2 separate regions of the Homo sapiens genome follow, and region 1 is linked to region 2. Evidence: promoter capture Hi-C in 16 types of primary human blood cells and fetal thymus (Javierre and others, 2016). All regions are on one chromosome and are shown on one strand. The core of a region is centred on a gene start or on the middle of the fragment in contact, and the rest is flanking DNA. Distances in the headings are between cores, read along the strand shown.

Region 1 (3,137 bases), core at 23-2,522, 110 kb before region 2:
TGTAATCTTTATTATTAAGTAAATTTCCATATATATGGATCTATTTTGATACATTCTACTCTATTCCAATCTATTTAGCTTTCCTTTGCCATTACTAAACTATCTTAATTACTCTTGTCTTTCTAATATCTAATAGAGCAAGTTCTTCCAGCCCTATATGCTATTCATTGCTCTTTAAAAACAGAAAAGAAAAAACTTTTACAATTGTCTGTTCTTGTCTATATTCTCTCTTCATATGTCAAGTTCCTATCCTCAATTCTCTCTTCATATGTCAAATTCCTATCAAGGTTTTGATTGAGATTACATTGAATTTAATGATTAATTGAGAGATTACCATAATCATAAGACTGAATATTATCATAAATTATATTATCTCTTCATTTATTAAAAAAAAAATTTTTTTTGAGACGGATTCTCGCTCTGTCACCCAGGCTGGAGTGCAGTGGCGCGATCTAGGCTCACTGCAAGCTCCGTCTCCCGGGTTCAAGCCATTCTCCTGCCTCGGCCTCCCAGTAGCTGGGACTACAGGTGCCCACCACCATGCCCAGTTAATTTTTTGTATTTTTAATAGAGACAGAGTTTCACCGTGTTAGCCAGGATAGGCTCAATCTCCTGACCTCGTGATCGCCTGCCTCGGCCTCCCGAAGTGCTGGGATTACAGGCATGAGCCACTGCGCCTGGCCTATTCAAAATGTTTTAAAGTGTCTTTCAGAAAATATTTATACTTTCTTTCTCATATAAGTGTTACACATTTCTTGTCCAGTTTAGGCTTTTGTTATTCTTATAAATGTAATTTTTTTCCTCTACATTTTTTCATTAGTTATTGTGGCATAAGAGCAGATACTGATTTTGTTTTCCTTATACGGAGCCATTTTATTGCACTCTCATTAATTCAAATTAGTGCTTCATTGGTTGTCTTAGATTACCTCTATTGCCTGTGTATATAATGATTTTTGTTGCTTCCTTTCCAGTATTTAACTCATTTCTATGTTTCTTTTCCATTGGCTAAGACCTCTAGAACACTGTTGAATAGCAGCAGTTATAGCAGGCATTTTTTGTGTTATTCATGAAAAGCCTTCTAACGTTTCATAATAAACTGTGATGTTTAAGTTTTTAAATAGATAGCCTACATCAAATTAAGGAAATTTCCTTTTCCTAGCTTACAATAGCTTTTATCAGGAATGGGAGTTAAATTTTATCAATAGGGTTTTCAGTATCTTAGAAAGATGATCTCTTTTATTATTTTTCTTTCAGTATACTGAACATATTCCTTAAGGTCAACCACAGTTGGATCAAACCTACTTGGTTAATTCAGTTCATTCAATTCAACAAATATTCATGTACTTAATATATGCCAGGCAGCTTTCTGGCCACTTAGCTTGTATTAAAGGAACTCACAATGATTCCTACCCTCATGGAGCTTATATTCTAGTAGATATCCATGATCTATTTTTTGTTTAACCTGTTGTTGAATTAAAATTGCTAATTTTTGATTTAATATTTTTATATTTACATTTATAAATGAGATTGATACAAGTATTTCTTTCTGTGCCATACTTGTTTGCTTCCCTTATTAAGATTTACCTTACAGAAATATATTGCAAATGTCTCATTATTTTCTATGCTATGGAAATGTGAAAGTAACAAATGAATTTGTCTCTTCTTTAGAGATTATCTATAACTTGCCCATAAAATCACCTAGACTTGAGACCTTTTCTTTCCTTTTTTTTTTTTTTGAGATGGAGTCTCACTCTGTTGCCCAGGCTGGAGTGCAATGGTGCAGTCACTGCTCACTGCAACATCTGCCTCCTGGGTTTAAGCCATTCTCCTGCCCCAGCCTCCCAAATAGCTGGGATTACAGGTTCCCGCCACCATGCCCAGCTAATTTTTGTATTTTTAGTAGAGACAGGGTTTCGCCATGTTGACCAGGCTGGTCTCAAATTTGTGACTTCAAGAGATCTGCCCTCCTCGGCCTCCCAAAGTGCTGGGATTACAGGTGTTTGCCACAGCGCCTGGCCTCTTTTCCTTTTTTTAATTAAAAAAATTTGTTTCATCGTAGTTAAAAAAATACATACAATTTACCATCTTAATAATTTTTAAGTGTACAGTTCAGTCATGTTAACTATATTGTGCTCTTTTTCTTCTTCAATAATTTTTTTTAATATCTTAGATTCCCCACCTCTTTTTGAGTCAATTTTGGTTTGTTATATACTTAGATAAATTTCACCCGAATTTTAAATTTATTGCTATAAGGTAATATGCAATACATTAGTATGCTTTTAAAATCTTCACTATTTCTGTGATTATATGTCCTTTTCATTCCAATGCTTTGTTGTTGTTGTTTTTGTTTGTTTGTTTCGAGACAGAGTCTCACTCTGTTGCTCAGGCTGGAGTGCAGTGGTGCCATCTCAGCTCACTGCATCCTCCGCCTCCCGCGTTCAAGCGATTCTCATGCCTCAGCCTCCAGAGTAGCTGGGATTACAGGCTCATGCCACCACACCCGGCTAATTTTTTGTATTTTTAGTAGAGATGGGGTTTCACAATGTTGGCCAGGCTGGTCTCAAACTCCTGGCCTCAAGTGATCCACCCACCTCGGCCTCCCAAAGTGCTAGGAAAACAGGCGTGAGCCACTGCACCTGGCCCTGATGCTATTTTTATATTTTCTCTCCTTCTCCATCTTTCTTTTTTTAATCAGACTTGCCAAAGATTGGTCTGTTTTATTGGTTATCAAATAATCAGATTTTTAGTACACTAATTGAGTGTGCCTTTTATTGTTTGTTTTTTATTTCATTAATTTCTGCTTTATCTCTTTTAATTCCATCCCCCAACTTTTAAAAGAGTTGTTTGTAATGTTCTTTGCCTAGCTTATTGAGTTTAATGTTTGGTTCATTGATTTTCAATCTTTTATGTTCTTTGAGTGCATTTCTAAAGCTATACATCTTCTTTTGAATGCCACTTTCTGTACACTATAGGTTTTGCTTTGTAATGTTTTCAGTATTGTCTTTAATTTCCATTTTGATTTACCCTTTAACCCAAGAATTCTTTCTTTCTTTATTTATTTTTTTGAGACAGAGTCTCACTCTGTCACCCAGGCTGGAATGCAGAGGTGCAGACCCTCCCTCCCTCCCTCCCTCCCT
Region 2 (2,844 bases), core at 333-2,832:
AAGGTGGCATTAAAAGTGTAAAGAAATGACATATAAGAGCATTTTGAAAGGATAAAGTTCTGTGTCAGTCTAAAATCGTGGAATTAATTGGTATGGTGAATGGAAAGAAGTTGAGAGGAATATCATTGGATTAGGAGGAAAGGTGGAACTGGAAAAGAGAGGGAGCCCCTCCTTCATTTGACAGACACCAGAAAAAGTCAAAAGAGCCTCCACTATTCAAACCACAAATCTAGCCAACACTTTTATCTTGAGACATCTCTGGAAAAATGATTTTTCCTTTTCCCTGCTCCTCAGTGCCAGGGATTTTTATTCATTTTGTGGTTACTGCATGCTTGCCATATGCCAGGCAATGTGTTTATTAGCTTATTATGATTTCAAAATTAGCCCTGGAAGACAACACATATCTTCAAAGGACTCTCAGAGGTCATCTCATATCTTCCCCTAGCTTTCCTTGTTGATAAAAATGGCAGTTCATCCCTCACCACTTAATACGTGGAGGGACGCGGGCCTAAAGAAATTCAGTGACTTGACCAAAGCCCAGAGTGGTGATGAAACCAGTACCCAAGCGCGGGGTTTCTCACTCCCCTTTTCCATCACACGTATATATATTAAAAAGACATGAAGTTACTAAGATGTGTCCTGGAGGCTCTGAGGCAGATCTGCTGTAGGAGGGATCAGCAGAGGCTTCTCTAGTCAGGGCATTCTCTGGGCGTTCAGCCCTTCCCTCCACTGGGCTCCAGCGCTGTAGAGAGGGTGGGGTTTTTACCTATCAGTATAGCGGGAAAAGATACCCAGGTGGCAGGAAGTTTAAGCCTCACCTGGAACTTATATTGAAAGCCACTTGGTAGAAAGGATAATGGTTTGGAGACAGAGTTCTATTCCTGCCAGCATTGACACTGTGTCTGAAAAGCCAGCATCGACACTGTGTCTGCAAATCCCTCAGCTATTCTGAGTCTCCGTTTTCTCCCTGTGAGATGGAGATCATAAAATCCGCCTCATCCTTAGGATTATTCTCCTGAAGCTACAATAAGGCCTGAGGCATTGTACGCTGGAAGAAACGTGTATTAATAGCAACTTCTGTCCCACCCCATCCCCCAACACGTCGATCCCCTCCGGAGCATAAAACTTTCCCCCAGCATCTGACCTGCCCAGGCCACCCTAGCACCTAGGAGCGTGAATTCCTGATGCGGGTTGTGGGTGGCGCGCCCTCCCGGTTCCCGCTCTCGTTTTTGTTTTTGGTCGGGTAAGGCGATGCTGTAGAGGCTGGCGATCTCCAGTCTTCACGAATCCGCACGTCTCTCCATTATCCACCGCGCCCGCCCACTGGGCCCCGGGGCGGCCGGCGGCCGGGTCTCTCGGGCTCCGCGTGTCGCCCGAGCCGCCGCCGGAGCGAGGGTCCCTGCCCCCTGGGGAGCGGTCTCCAGCCGCTTCGAAGCCGCCTTCTTCCCCCTCCGTGAGTCAGAAACAAAGGCGGGGGGGCGGGGGGAGCGCCCGAGCTGCGGCTCCGCGATTCGCCCTTTATTCTGAACTCGCAACGTCAGCGGCCCGCGGATGGAGCTGCGGGGTGCGGACTGGGCCGCCCACAGCGCACCGGGCCGGGGGAGCGGCCGCGCTGGGCCGGGCGGGCGGGTGGCGGGGGTGCGCTCGGGGACCCGGGCCGCGTGGGCGCCGGGATGGAGGGCGCCAAGGGGCGGGGAGCGGGCGTGCGTGTGTGTGCGAGTGCGAATGCGAGGGAGGCCGGCCTTGAGTGAAACCGGAGCTACAAAGAAGGGGAGAGTCCGGGAGCGGGAGGGCGCGAGGGAGGAGCGGCGGCGCCGGGGCAGCTCCGACGCCCTCCCGCGGGGAAGGAGCCCCCGCGGTGCCGCCGAGGCCCCGACGCGGGGCCGCCCCTCGGCTCGCCGCCCCGCGCCCGCGCCCGCTGGGAATGATGAAGAAGAACAATTCCGCCAAGCGGGTGAGTGCGCTTGCCCGCCCTGCGGCCGCCGCCGCCTCCGCGCTCTGACGACCCCCGCTCCGTCGGCGCCGCGGCGGCCTGGGAGACCCACGGCCCGGCCGCGCCCCCGCCCCGGCGGCCCGGTCCCCTCGGCCTCGGCCCCGCCAGGCGCCCGCGGGGGCTTTTGTTTGTTTACTCGCCTCGGGGGGCTTCAACTTGGCTGAGTTTCCCCACGACCCGCACCTCCCCCGCCCCCGGGCGCCGGGCGAGCGTTTGCCTCGCGCTCCGCCGTGGCGAGGAGACAATGGGAGAGAAAACCAGAGAAACGCCGTTAGTCCCCGCGCGGCGAGGACGGGGCGGCGGGGGCGCAGGGCCTGGAGGGAACCTGGGAGCCTCTCCGCGCCCGGCCGGCGCCCCTGCCACTTGCAGCCCCGGTTGTTTATTCGGGAGCGGGGGAGGGGAGCGGGGGGAGTTCCTCGGAGTGAAAACCTTTCCGAAGTGGGAGCGAACCTGGGGCGGCCCCCCGCCCCCCGGCCGCAGCCTTCGGAGGAGACTGGGCCGCCGAGGCGGTCGTGAGAGACGGACGGAGAGGAAGCGCCGGCTGGAATCTCCTAACCGCCCGCTTCTCATCTTGTCCTGGGGCAGGGACCTCAGGATGGAAACCAGCAGCCTGCACCGCCCGAGAAGGTCGGCTGGGTCCGGAAATTCTGCGGGAAAGGGATTTTCAGGGAGATTTGGAAAAACCGCTATGTGGTGCTGAAAGGGGACCAGCTCTACATCTCTGAGAAGGAGGTGGGTGCCTCTTGCCTCTAACTCTCCGTTTTCTCATAGCCCCCACTTTGTCACTCCCCAAGGGCTCGCCTAGCTTACTCCACCCCCGTTTTGTTCCAAAGGCAAGTTCAGTGGTCTCC

The links. The method cuts DNA at HindIII sites, captures the fragments that hold promoters and counts their contacts. A CHiCAGO score of 5 or more calls a contact.
Region 1: a fragment that was not itself captured here is called in contact with the fragment with the promoter of PLEKHO1 in region 2 in 5 of 17 cell types (erythroblasts, naive CD8 T cells, neutrophils and 2 more); the score reaches 10.3 in erythroblasts.

What each region holds. Positions count from the first base shown.
Region 1 is chr1:150,038,992-150,042,128 of GRCh38, forward strand. All of the region lies in intron 1 of LOC124904413 (a long non-coding RNA gene), which reads left to right. It also overlaps a transcript of OTUD7B not described here. Among named protein-coding and RNA genes, the nearest start is that of VPS45, 27 kb to the right of the region's middle. The HindIII fragment of the contact is 5,988 bases long and covers 1-3,137 here.
Region 2 is chr1:150,148,334-150,151,177 of GRCh38, forward strand. It overlaps PLEKHO1 (pleckstrin homology domain containing O1), which reads left to right and starts at 1,583. Exons shown (of 6, transcript NM_016274.6): 1 at 1,583-1,954; 2 at 2,579-2,725. The coding sequence starts at 1,925. RefSeq lists silencers at 1,211-1,670, 1,811-1,890 and an enhancer at 1,523-2,023. The HindIII fragment of the contact is 16,730 bases long and covers 1-2,844 here.